4 separate regions of the Homo sapiens genome follow, and all the other regions are linked to region 4. The links are contacts of gene promoters, found by promoter capture Hi-C in human tissues and cell types (Jung and others, 2019). All regions are on one chromosome and are shown on one strand. The core of a region is centred on a gene start or on the middle of the fragment in contact, and the rest is flanking DNA. Distances in the headings are between cores, read along the strand shown.

The links. The method cuts DNA at HindIII sites, captures the fragments that hold promoters and counts their contacts. A contact is called where the count stands out against the background at its distance.
Region 1: a fragment that was not itself captured here is called in contact with the fragment with the promoter of GFRA1 in region 4 in 3 of the 25 tissues and cell types used here (aorta, dorsolateral prefrontal cortex and mesendoderm cells).
Region 2: a fragment that was not itself captured here is called in contact with the fragment with the promoter of GFRA1 in region 4 in 2 of the 25 tissues and cell types used here (mesendoderm cells and thymus).
Region 3: a contact is called between a fragment that was not itself captured here and the fragment with the promoter of GFRA1 in region 4, in 2 of the 25 tissues and cell types used here (hippocampus and mesendoderm cells).

Annotation. Positions count from the first base shown.
Region 1 is chr10:116,081,646-116,084,710 of GRCh38, reverse strand. The region is part of intron 9 of GFRA1 (GDNF family receptor alpha 1); the gene reads left to right. Among named protein-coding and RNA genes, the nearest start is that of SNORD158, 110 kb to the left of the region's middle. The HindIII fragment of the contact is 5,019 bases long and covers 1-3,065 here.
Region 2 is chr10:116,103,216-116,106,732 of GRCh38, reverse strand. All of the region lies in intron 6 of GFRA1 (GDNF family receptor alpha 1), which reads left to right. Among named protein-coding and RNA genes, the nearest start is that of SNORD158, 90 kb to the left of the region's middle. The HindIII fragment of the contact is 5,863 bases long and covers 1-3,517 here.
Region 3 is chr10:116,131,795-116,134,813 of GRCh38, reverse strand. The region is part of intron 5 of GFRA1 (GDNF family receptor alpha 1); the gene reads left to right. Among named protein-coding and RNA genes, the nearest start is that of SNORD158, 61 kb to the left of the region's middle. RefSeq lists a silencer at 1,782-2,076. The HindIII fragment of the contact is 5,383 bases long and covers 1-3,019 here.
Region 4 is chr10:116,271,653-116,275,008 of GRCh38, reverse strand. It overlaps GFRA1 (GDNF family receptor alpha 1), which reads left to right and starts at 1,803. Exons shown (of 11, transcript NM_005264.8): 1 at 1,803-1,846; 2 at 2,734-3,019. The coding sequence starts at 2,980. It overlaps LOC107984273 (a long non-coding RNA gene), which reads right to left and starts at 1,000. Exons shown (of 2, transcript XR_001747598.2): 1 at 1-1,000. RefSeq lists a silencer at 1,298-1,592 and an enhancer at 801-1,638. The HindIII fragment of the contact is 12,805 bases long and covers 1-3,356 here.

The DNA of each region.
Region 1 (3,065 bases), core at 130-2,629, 190 kb after region 4:
CATCATTGTACACTGCTTAACTCTGGTGTCTTACAGTGAAGACATCTTAATGTGGTGTTTGTCGACCTCTGATTTCTGTGGTCAAATAGAGTAACAAGGATTGGGAGCTATAGCCTTGGGACTCAGGCCTCCTGAGAAGGTTTCACTGCCTCTGCCTTCCTTCAGCCCCTTGCCCCTGGAAATGCGTGACAGACCGTGGGGCACACGCTCAGCCCCAGGGCGAGCAGGGTAGGTGAGGATAGCTGTGGGCAGTTGGCACAGGCTCCAGTAAACAGCACAAGCCACATTCAAAGTTAGAGATTACTTTTGTGAGTCACATAAAACACATCTGTGGGTGAGACATGGAGGACCAGTGTGACAGATCTCATCCTGGTGGGACTTTTAAAACAGCATTCTAGAAGGAAACCACAAAGCAGCTTGCCTAGTCATGAAAGAGATGAAGGGTCCATGTGGATAATCTTCGAAAGCATGCTTCCTGTTAAAATCAACCATGCAGAGGGCAGCCGTCCTGCCCCCAACCACTCCACCAGTAGCTGCCTGGTCTTCTCTGGCCATCAGACCATGCTAGCCCTAAGGGGTTCACAGTAGAGACACCGTGGGCCCCTCTTTGTGTGGGGTGGGGGCAGAGGCCTTGGGGTGGGCATCTGCCTGGAGCAGAGAACCTGCCACATTCACTGGATTTCAGCCTAGGTTCACACCTTGCCAGCCTCCCAACAAAGCCTCAATACATTTCCTTATCTCCCCAGAGTCGTGTCAAGCTTAGAAAACAGGTACTTGTAGGATGCAGCCTAATGTTTGCAGAGTGGCAGGAGGGATGGAGGGCAGACCTAATCTGTTTAACTCCTACATCTTCTGCATTTGAATATTGAAAATAATCTATATTTAGATGGTCCCTTCCACCCTCTCCCCACGGCCCCAGTATCTCCTCAGATCCAAAGTCCATTTGTTCCAGATGGGGCCAGACCAGACCAGAAATGATTTCAAAACTCTTCTTTGTGGGGGCAAACCCCCAAAGTCTAGATGCGGTGGGAAGGCAATTATCCAAGCCTACCAAATACCCAGGACTCCACTGGCTGTGACCAAGTGAAAATTTTAAGTGTCGAGTTTTAAAAGGAAAGCTGCCAATGGGTGTTCTGTAAATCATTTGTGCCAGCAGACTGACCCCATTATGTCAGCTAATCCTGGAAATACAGGAGGTAAATTTCAATCTTCTAGCACGGAGCACTTAATCAATATTCTAAATGTTTTTCTTGCAATTTATGCTAGCAGAGCAATGGGATGCTTTGGCGGCCCGTTAATCTTCCACCAGAGAAGAGGCGCTTGAGAGCCAGTCCAGGGTGCTGGGATTTTGCACAGGATGATAGACTGGGAGGAGAGGAGGCCTGGGAAGATAGAAGCGAGGAAAGAGAGGTGCTTATTTCCACACCAGACTCCTGGCTCCGGGAAGGGGGTTCACCCCCTGTCCTTACCCCACCCCTCCAAGTAGGGTGAAGTAACCCTGAGAGCAGTTCTTCCGCACTTTCCTTTTCACCCATGGTTAACAGTTTAAGAGTTGGTTTTCCGGGAAAAGCTTGAGCTTTGGAGTTAGTTGGACCTGAGTGAGAATCCTGGCTCGCCTCCTGTGGCTCCATGACTATTGCTTGGTTTTTACCCTGAATCTCTGCTGTAAAACACCACTGAGCTCTTGGTTTTTTGTGAGGGATAAAGAACAGTGCAAGTATGCAAAGAGCCAGGCACAACAACAGGCTGACCCTTGGACTGGGGGAAGTGGCCTCCACTATTGGCATGGTTGGTGAGATGCATTAGAGATTTTGACACAGGAGGCTGGGGCCAGAAAGGAAGAGCTGCTCTCAGGAGCAGGGGGGCCACAGAGGAAGAACGATGGAGCTCTTTAGATTGTATTGTGTCTTCTTAATTAATAAGAAGGGTTTGAGGCTGGGTGTGGTGGCTCACACCTGTAATCCCAGCACTTTGGGAAGCCAAGGCGGCAGATCACCTGAAGTCAGGAGTTTGAGACCTGCCTGACCAACATGGAGAAACCCCATCTCTACTAAAAATACAAAATTAGCCAGCATGGTGGCACATGCCTGTAATCCCAGCTACTCAGGAGGCTGAAGCAGGAGAATCGCTTGAATCCGGGAGGCGGAGGTTGTGGTGAGCCAAGATCGCACCATTACGCTCTTGCACTCTAGCCTGGGCAGCAAGAGCAAAAGTCCGTCTCAAAAAAAAAACAAAAAAAACAAAAGCAAGGGGCGGTTTGAGCTGAATGATATCCTGCCAGTTCTAAGATGTGGTCTTGGTGGAAAGTCCCAGGGAGGAGGGGAAGAGGGAGAATGTTCTTTGGACACCAGGCCAAGAAGGAAGGGAAACCAAAGGCAATAAAAGGACTAGGTCTTCAGGGATTAGAACTGATCCAAATTCCATCTCTCCGCACATCTCCTGGGAGCTTCATCTGACTTACCTGCCTCTTGGAGCTGTGACTTGGAGCTGCCACTCTGGTCAGATCTTGGTCCAGCCTGGTGACCAGAGTGGAACTAGCTGCCACGGTCCCCGCCACATCTCTTTAACCAATGCTGACATTAGGAAGAGGTGATGCAGTTGTTAACATGAAACATTCTTGGTTGCAGAAAAGACGGTATTTGAGAACTAGTCCTGCCTCTTAGCCTCAAATCCCAGGACTTTGCAGTCTTTGCCATATCTGCACTCCACTGATCCTATTATTTGCTTCATCTTTGTCTTTAAATTCAATTATGAGCTATACTTATTTATATGCACACTACTGCCTTTGAGACTCATCTGAAGCTGTTACTAACATATGTGAAAGCATGAGTTCAATGTGCTTTCTCTATATTAAAATCAATATATAAATATTAAAATTAAAACCATAAAAAAGTTTGCGTGCTACCTAAAATGATGTCGTATACCACCAGTAGTCCCCAAGCCCCACTTTGGAAAACATTATAAACCATCTCATTCTATGACAGATCCCAGAACAATTTGCTTTGATAACTTAGGTCACCCTAGCTTTTTATGGCCAGGCATTAATAAAACAAATGCATACGCAG
Region 2 (3,517 bases), core at 439-2,938, 170 kb after region 4:
GTGAAAGATGGAAGACAGGAACGAGATAATTCCTTTGAGAGTCCGAAAGTATTCCTCATGCAGACATGTCACATGATCGGAGCAGAACCAAGAGAAAGTGGAGGGAGGTGCCACACACTTGTAAAAGATCAGATCTCACAAGAACCTACTCGCTACCCAAGAGGGTGGTGCTAAACCATTCATGAGAAGTCTGCCCCCAGGATCCAATCACCTCCCACCAGGCCCCACCTCCAACACTGGGGATCACGTTTCAGCGTGAGATTTGGGTGGGGACACACGTCCGAACTATATCACTAGGCTTCAGAGAAGCTAAGATACTTGCCCAGAATGTCATGGCTAGTAAGCGATTGAGCTGAAATTTAAGTCCTAGTACATGTTCAAGTTCTGTATGAAAACCCCCTACTGTTTACTGCTTTTTAGTAGTCTTTTAGTTTTCTATTGGTGCTGTTAACAAATTACCACAAACTTCAAACAACACACATTTATTCTCTTACTGATCTATAGGGTCAGAAGTCTGACTCGGGTCTCACTGGGCTGAAATCAAGGTGTCAGCAGGGCTGAGTTCTTTCTGGAGGCTGCAGAGGAGAATCCATTTCTTTGCCTTTCCCCACGCAGGCTCATGGCCCCTTCCTCCATTTTCAGAACCAGCAAGGGCCAGGTGGAGTCTCACATGACATCACGATGACACCCTCACTTGCCTCCCTATTCCACTTTTAAAGACTCCTGTGATTCTATTGGTCCTACCGGGAAAATCCGGGATACTCTCCCTACCTCAAGATCCATGACCATAATTATATCTGCAAAGTCCATTTTGCCATGAACTGTAATGGTCTCAGGTTTTAGGAATTCAGGTCCAGATGCCTTTGAGAGCCTACCCAAAGGTAGGCATTCTGCCTGCCGCAAGCAGTTTTTCTTCTGAGCATCTATCTTGTTTTTAATTTGGGGGTATCATGAGCTAGTTGTGGAATTAGTTATGAATATCTTAACCCCCTTCCCAGTGGTTGCTGGAAATCTCTGAACCAAATATGTAGTTTTCATCCAGCCAGGGGCATGTGTACATTTTGTACTAGCTAAACCACTGCCTCTATCTTACCTTTCTGTGGTCCCCAATTCTCTCACTAATTTTTATATTCTGCCACATCACAGCTACATCTGAAGGCACTTCAAAATTCCTTCTGAAGACAGGGTGTGCGTAAATAATTAAATGAAGCCATGGTGGATGACCTTTGCTGCCCAGGATTCCTGAGCAGTTGACATGGAGCCTCTTAGCGTTCCAGAATAAATACCAGGCGACTTCAGGCATTTACTTCCGAAGGTGGAGGTGCTGCTGAATTCTCCATGAAGCAAGCTCACACTGTGTTGGTCTAGAGTTTTAAGGTGTGGTTCTGCTGGTGAAAGATTCATTGAACATCTAGATTTCCATTTTTTCTTGTGGCCAAAAGCCACAAAACTGATTTCTAAAGTTTGCCTGCAGAAATATAAAAGACTTATTGGATAAGGTTTACTCTTAAAGAGTTTTAACATATTTGTCACCTGCAGTTATCCCACTGAATATCTGAGAGCTTTATGATCCTTTCATCATCCACAAAACTTTCCATTTCTTTTCTTCTTCAATTTCTTCCCTTAAAAACAAGTACTACCAAAGCTAAAGCTAGGTTTTCTGTGTGAATGGACATAGCATAGTATGGGTAATATAAAACAATTTTATTTGATTTCGTGATGCAGCACAGGGTTGTTGGAGATCTTTCTGTGCTCCCATTACTACTTAGAGTTTTCTTGTACCATGACCATCAGTTTGCGCATTGGGATAAATAGGTGGAGGGCAGTGGATTCCTGGCAAAAGGGCAGTTCAGGGACATCTGATCTAAGGCTGCTGAAAGCCCCTTGCAAGTTGGAATGGATTTTCTTGCCAACTACCATGACTTGCTTTTCAAATTTGCCAGGTAGAGAGTACCTGTCAAGCCCTGTCAACTGCTCTGTCAATGTTGACTGATGGCTGTCAATGTTCATGCAAGGTGGCTTCGGGAGGGATGCCAAAATTGATCAGATGCCAACCTAGACTTCCCTCGGGGGGCTACTGCAGTTTGATGCAATCAGAAAGGCTAAGGAAGCATCACCTCTGTGCCCTGCAGCCTGCTTTTGCTGAACCCTCAACCTGCAGAGATACCCAAGGCAGGACGCAGGGACTGAAATAATGGGGGATTCCATCTGCATCGCCGGAACTCCATTCTCAGCCCATGAAGCTTTGCCAGAGCCCCTGTGAGTCAGGCTCAGAGTGCAGTGACAGCAGCCTCCATGGCCCATGTGCTGGGCAAACCACAAGGAGAACCCTCGCAGCCAAGAGCTGCCAAGGAGCCAGAGGAGCAACAGTGATCGGGGAAGCCCCATGTATCAGGATGAGGCTGAGCAGGGATTTGAGGGGAGCAGGAAATGATCTGTACTTGGCCACAGGGGCCTTTCTGTCCCAGGAAACAAAGGCATTAGGAAAGGCTTGAAGGCTGCTTAGACCTTATGGTATTGTTTCTCACCAACATGTGGCCGCTGTCTTGCTAAACTGCCATACGCACATCAGTTGGCGAGGCTTTAATAATCCCACTACCAGTGGGAACCTGTGTTAAGGGGCTGATGAATGCAAGATGCACAGAGCTTTGCGCATCTGCACCTGGGGCATGTGGACCTCCCCAGACCCTTTGCGTCTCCACACTCAGTCCTAGGTGGGGAGAGAATCGCAGCTCAGCTCCTCAGCTCCCCAGCTCCGCAGCTCCGTAGCCTACTCCTAGGCAAATACTAGGCCTTTGCTCCAGGAAGCCAGATGCACAGCCCAGACAGCAATAGCAACACAAAATAACACCCCCTGCAAAATGTATTTAATACAGGCCCTGGTTTCCTGAAGGATGCTTTCCAGATGTGTGTTACAGCAGACTGAGGGAGAATAGGGGCTAAGGTAATTTTCTAAAAACAGAAAGAGGAAAAATCTGTTTTGTGTCACTATACCAGACAATTACCTTTCCAGTGTTTTAGCCTTTTCATTCCTGGTCTAATATTAGCAGCATGTTTTTCTAATTGTTTTTATTCTGCAAAAGGTATTAGCAGTTTTAACAAACTTACTGATATTTAGTCCTTTTAAAAATATATCCCTTTGCTCTAAGTCCCTGGGAAAAAGTAGCTTTTCTTAAAGTGCCTTTATTTTATGAGTTCATGTAACAGAGAGGCTTTAAGTAACACCACAGATTCCTCACTTCAGACTTCTCAAATTTGTTTTGGTCAAAGTTGATGCCTTTAGTTACATAGATGTAGCATGTTGAAAGTATGTAATATAAGGGCCACCAAAGATAGACTAAGACACAGTGTATGTTTCTCTTTATTGAGCTTGTTGTGTGTTTTTCCAGCAAAGGCTGAACATTAGAATGAACCAGGAATTGGGGAGAACATATGAAGGGATAGAAGTAAAAATTTTGGGGGCAACTGGTGTATTCTGGGTTCTGGGTGAGGAGCTTTATATAATTGTCATTTAAGT
Region 3 (3,019 bases), core at 488-2,987, 140 kb after region 4:
GCTAATGGATAAGGCTAGCCCATGACTTGTGGTTAACAAGGGGAACTGTCTTTACCAGACCAAAGAATTATTTCCAAACTTACAGGTATTCAAAATAATTCAGTCACTGTGAGCCCCAGAGAAAACTTGGGTATGGCTTGCAGCTTAATGTAGTTGTGTAAGGTATGAAAAAACAGAACTAGGAGGAATTTCATCATCATGTAATACAATATGTCTGAAACAGTGTACGAATGACAAAATGGGTTCCAAACAGCCAACATGTGCTTTTTAAATGTAATTTTTAGCACCCTAGCTGGAAAAAGCCAAGCTCTTGAAGGATCAGTTACAAGGGTCACAACCTGTATGATCAAATTTGCCATACGATCCGTGTGGATATCAGAAGCCCAGACTGTCACTGTGAGCTTGCAGAAAAGTTTGCCTACACCTGTGAAGATTTGGCATCTTTTACCCATTTTTTAATTTTCTGGGAAAACACATTAGAGGGAGCCTATTAGAAGAAGAACAGTAGTTATATTAACATAGTAATTAATCAAGTCAGAAAGAAAAAGAGGAAACAAGTTGTGAATTCAATTCTGCAGCCTTAAAAAGAAAGGCAGAAAGATACCCAGAAATTGGCAAGCATGTGCAAACAAACGTTCTTTTATTGTCTTGTGAATTTTTGCTTCGTAAATCATATCTCTTGCAGGCCATGCAGATTTTAATATATTTACTGTTTTATTCTACCTCATAATCCATAGAAATAGATTTCTAGTTGCTTGCATCTGTGTTTCATCCTGAATCGTTTCAACTGGTTAGCTGGCCCTGGTGTTTGCCAATAACGGTGGCATTTTCTAAGTGTAAATAATCAGGGCTGCTGGCCACAGTGATAGCCTCTTACTTGGGACAGTGTGAGGATTGTATTTGAGATAAAGGCAGTTCCTTGCTCCAGAGGAATTTAGAATATGAAAGCTTCTCCCATGACATAATTCATCCCTGACACTTCCACATCTCGCTGTGTTGGAGGGACCTTTTACATTTGCTCTGCCTGCAGGTCAGGGCTGAAATCATTGGTCCATGTACTCCTTTGGAGCCGCAGACCGCGGAGAGGCCAGCGCCTCCAAGTGCATAGACCCTCTGGCTGGGGTTTTACATTCTGTCCCTCATCACCACATTTTATTCTAAATATTTGACGTTATAGTCAGAAAAGGCAGATTACATTAGAACCATCAAATCAAAGAGCCTTAAGGCTTGAAGGGACCTTAGATATATCATCTCACAAATAGGGAAACTGATGCCCATGGGGGGAAAGCTGACTTGTATGAAAACGCTCAGATGATTGGACCACATTTAAAACCCAGATGCTCCTCACTCCTAATCCATGGCTCCTTCAGCAGCACCTGACCCTTTTTGTCCTAGGTTTTGGGATCTCACCCTCGGTTGCCATGAATGTTATACCTCCCATGGCCAAGAAAACAAGAAACAAGTCACCACCAGATGTGATCACAGCCAGAGAGGCTTAGAATGATGGTAAAGAAAGCAATACGTAACCTGCAAAGTGACAACATGGCTGTGTGGAATTTGAAGTGAAAATCTGGTTAAATGGCATTCTCGGTAATACAGAGCCGAGGCTGGAGAGGAGCACATTAGCTGAGCACAACCCACTCGCATATGCACTCCCCCAAGAAAAAAGGATTTCTAGTAAACAGCGTTCATTCTGAGAATACTTCCCATTCAGACAGCGTCCCAGACATTCTACCAAGTTAAAGAATGAATAACAGCAGATGGAGGGAGAGATTAGAGGGGGAGGGGAGGGGGGAAAGCAACATTTTAATGCTGAGCTCTAAAATGAGCTGTGGAGAGGATGGCAGTTAGAGTTATAGTAAAGCTGTTCAGAAGCCTTCCCACGCAGGCGAGAAGGCGCTTGTGCCCAGACCGTAAAACACAGGCGGGCTCCTGATCCTCCGTGCGGTGTGTGAGCTGATGGAGGGCTGGCTTTGACTCCAAGGGTGTAAATTGAATCATTCTCCCCTCTCCTCCCTGTGCCCTCAAGTCATTGAGGTAGTATTTTCGTGCACTGGGGGATCCATTCAATAGATATAGAGGATCAATCTTCTTACCGGGTGAAAACTCAACCCTAATTTATATATCCTGTGATTTCAGCAGTGTTTATTTTTAACTTCATTGCAGTAGGATCCGCAGTATCAGGGCCCCGGAGAGAGCTGGAGGTGGATTTGTGAGGGACTAAGTTAGCGGGCGAAAGGAGGGGAGGGGCCAAGAGTGATTTCCCATGTGCCGTGCGCAATTGCCCATGTGAAACTTTTTGAAAAGAGTAATAATAAGGTAGGCATGAATTTATTTTTTCCAATATTTTATTATGAACATTTTCGAACATACAGAACAGTGGAAAAAAAATATGGTTAATGCATATATACTCAGCACCTGGATTCCATATTCACATCTGAATGTGCTGTATGAGCGCCCATATGTCCATCCTCTAAGTTTTTAAAATTCATTTATGAATATACTGCCCCTAAACGCTTCAGCACACATATGACTAACCAGTGTTCAATATTTGTTTAGGCTATTTCTTTTTGTGTTTTGTTGTTGTTTGTTTGTTTGTTCTTTGAGACACACTTTCGCTCTTGTCACCCAGGCTGGAGTGCAGTGGTGTGGATCATGGCTCACTGCAGCCTTGACCTTCTGGGCTCAAGTAATCCTCCCACCTCAGCCTCCCGAGTAGCTAGGACTACAGGCACATGCCACCATGCCTGGGTGATTTTTAAATATTTTTGTAGCGACAGTGCCTCCTTATATTGCTCAAGCTGGTCTCGATCTTCTGGTCTCAAGCAATCCTCCCACGTCAGCCTCCCAAAGTGCTGGGATTACAAGCATGAGCCACTGTGCCTGGCCTTTTTTTTTTTTTTTTTTTTCCTTTTGAGATAATGTTTACATAGGCACAAACCTTAAGCATACTATCTCTGAGTTTTGGCCCAAACTGTTCAACACAAGCCATTATCAAGGTAGAGAACATTACCATCAC
Region 4 (3,356 bases), core at 554-3,053:
CATCCCCAGGATTTATCTGGCTTGTTTGTGAAAATATGGGAAAACATTTTAAGTCGAAGAAACTGATCAGATGACTTAATTACATTTCTGCTTAGTTCAGCCTGTAACTTAGACTGTTAGAGAGAGAGAACTTAAGTAGCCCTTGGTTTGAACCATCTGTCGCGAAAATGTGACATATGTTTGCTTTGTTTACTCAACAACCAAGTGTAAACTGATACACTGAACTAGAGTATCCCTGAATGATGTGGCTATGGGTGTGTGTGTGTTGGAGGAGGGGTGTCTGATGAGGGCGTCCGTCTCCTCATACTTACCCTGGAGGAACACGCGTACAGCACAAGAGAAGTGCGGATCCGTAGGATGTCCCCCGGGTTTGGGGCGCGCCCCGAGGCGCAGACCCTCTTTGGCGACTCCACACAATATGCAGCCCGCCTGCAAGCAGCCGCTGCAGCCGAGGGGCGCGCCTGGCTGATGTGTGGTTGAATGGAGAGCGGCCCAACCCTCCTCCTTCCTCCTCTTCTTCTCCCCGCCCTGACACCCGGGCCTCAAACTTCAACCAAAGCCCGTGCCCTTTTCAATTTACCCCCCTCGATCAAAATGAGCCATTCTTGTCTGTCCTCCGCGGCGGCCCATTGTCTGGCGTGATAGGTTTGCAGATTTGACAGCTGGGCGCACGCAGATTTGATTCAAACTCGGTCTCCCCGAGAGATGAACTTGGACATCAGCAAAGATCCCGAGCACTGCCGGCTGGCTCCTAGACCGGTCTCCCGACCCAGTGTAGACTTCGGTGCCCCGGGCGCCCCCCGGCGTGCGGGAAGGGGAGCGTGTGTCAGGCGTGGGGGGCGGGGGGTGAGCAGCACGACTGGGAACCAGCGGTCCCAGGGGTTGGGGCGAAGGGCTGTGTACATGTTAGGCTTTTTTTGTTGTTGTTAATTTACTCTCGAAACAGCCAAAATGGAGGTCAGCTTATAAATTTTCTAAAGCCAGGTCTGGCCGGGTTTAAATGCAGTGGGCTGGGGGCTCCGCTTTTGTCTCCTTGTCGGAGCTCCAGGAGAGAGGTAGAGACTGCGTGTGCATGTGTGCGTGTGAGTGTGAGTGTGCACGCGCTGGCGTGGACGAACGGATGGGCGCATCCCAGGATCGCCGCTCCAGCGTCCTGGGTCTGAGTGTGTCTTGAAAGCACCAAGTCTTGAATCACAGCCACTAGTGACGTGGGGGAAAACTTTGTGTTCCGAAGAAGGGTCTGGCTCGATTGCCCTAAGAAGAAAGAGCCCTTGTGCCCGTGTATGTGTGTGTGTGTGTCTGTGTGTGTGTGTGAGAGAGAGAGAGAGAGAGAGAGACAGAGAGAGAGAGAGAGAGAGAGAGTGTGTGTGTCTGGCAGCACCCGCGGCCGGCTGCAGAACACTGCGTGTCCTGTGCGCGAGTACGGGTCCGGCCGCGGGTCCCACCGCAAGCGGGCGTGTGCAGCTGCGGCTGCCTGGCGGGCGAGCTTAGGAGGGAGCTGGAGCTGCGGAGCGGCGGGAACAGGAGCAGGCCGAGGGTCCTCTGGCCAGAAGAAATCTGGCCTCGGAACACGCCATTCTCCGCGCCGCTTCCAATAACCACTAACATCCCTAACGAGCATCCGAGCCGAGGGCTCTGCTCGGAAATCGTCCTGGCCCAACTCGGCCCTTCGAGCTCTCGAAGATTACCGCATCTATTTTTTTTTCTTTTTTTTCTTTTCCTAGCGCAGATAAAGTGAGCCCGGAAAGGGAAGGAGGGGGCGGGGACACCATTGCCCTGAAAGAATAAATAAGTAAATAAACAAACTGGCTCCTCGCCGCAGCTGGACGCGGTCGGTTGAGTCCAGGTTGGTGGCATTTGGAGTTTTTTTCGTTCTGTTTGGGAACCCATTGCCGCTTCCCGTCCCTCTTCCCCACTCCTTCTTCCCCCCTCCTCCGGCCACCCCTTTCTTTTTGCTGGCGTCTCCCAACTTTAGGGCCCGGGGGGCGCTCGTGGCGCCGGGCTGCACCTGCCGGGGCACGCCGGGACTGCGGGCCGGCGCGCTCGCCCTGGGCTGGGGTGCGGAAGCGCCCGAGTCCTGGGCACCGGGCGAGAGTGTGAGAGGAGCGGACGCCCAGGAGGGAGCCGAGGACGCGCGGCGGGTAGGGGGTAGGGGCGCAGGAACCGGGTTTCAGCCCCAGTCGGGACATCGGTTCCCCCTGGCTTGGCGGCCTCTGGAGGGAGACGAGTCCCGGGGAGAAGGAGGGCGGCGACTGGGGCTAGGGATTGGCGATCGGAGTGGGGAGGGCCGGCGGCTGAGCGAGCTCGCTGGCTGACGCGAGGAGGGGGAGGCCAACTTCCCGGGAGAAGGGGCTCTTTCGGCGCCAGGGCTGGCTAGGGAGCTGCCGCCGCCGCCACCGAGGGCTCGGACTCCAGGCAGCTGCAGGCTCCGCTCGCGACGCTCGGAAAGTACCGTTTATTTATTTATTTGCTTGCGTTCAGCGTCTCGGGTTGAACCCAACAGACACCCCCTTGGACTTTAGGAACCCTCTTCAGACCTCTCCAGCCCTCACCTCCATCCCCGTGTCAGCGGCCCCTGGAAAACACGCACATGCACCCCGACCTGGGTGGGGGTGGGTCCTCACCCCGGTGTTGGAAATTCCCCAAAGGCGGGAACGGGGGAGGGGAGAGGGTTCTGTGGGGGGAGTCTCCGGCGCTCTCCGCTCTCATCTCAAAGCGCGCCCTCCCTTCCAGGTTGGGTCGGACCTGAACCCCTAAAAGCGGAACCGCCTCCCGCCCTCGCCATCCCGGAGCTGAGTCGCCGGCGGCGGTGGCTGCTGCCAGACCCGGAGTTTCCTCTTTCACTGGATGGAGCTGAACTTTGGGCGGCCAGAGCAGCACAGCTGTCCGGGGATCGCTGCACGCTGAGCTCCCTCGGCAAGACCCAGCGGCGGCTCGGGATTTTTTTGGGGGGGCGGGGACCAGCCCCGCGCCGGCACCATGTTCCTGGCGACCCTGTACTTCGCGCTGCCGCTCTTGGGTAAGTCGAGGCCCGCCGCGGGCTTTCTTACCCTCTGAGTCTTTCCTAGGGTCGCTTGCAGCAGCCCACCCCGCCCTCCGCACCAAAATTGGGGCGCGGGTGTGGTGGATGTGGAAGGAAGAAGTGTCTTTTTGGGGAATGGGATCGCGAATCCCCGGGTTAGGGAGGCGGTGGCGGCGCGGCGCTGCCTGAAGCTTTTCGGGCTTGGTTTTGATTTCCTGTGGTTTTTAATGACCCAACTTGGCGGGGGACTAAGAAGCCCTCCAGCCCAGGGCCCTGCACCCCCAGAGAGTCTCTGGGAGCTCGCGGAGCCGCGGCGGGCAGGTGGAGTTGGGGA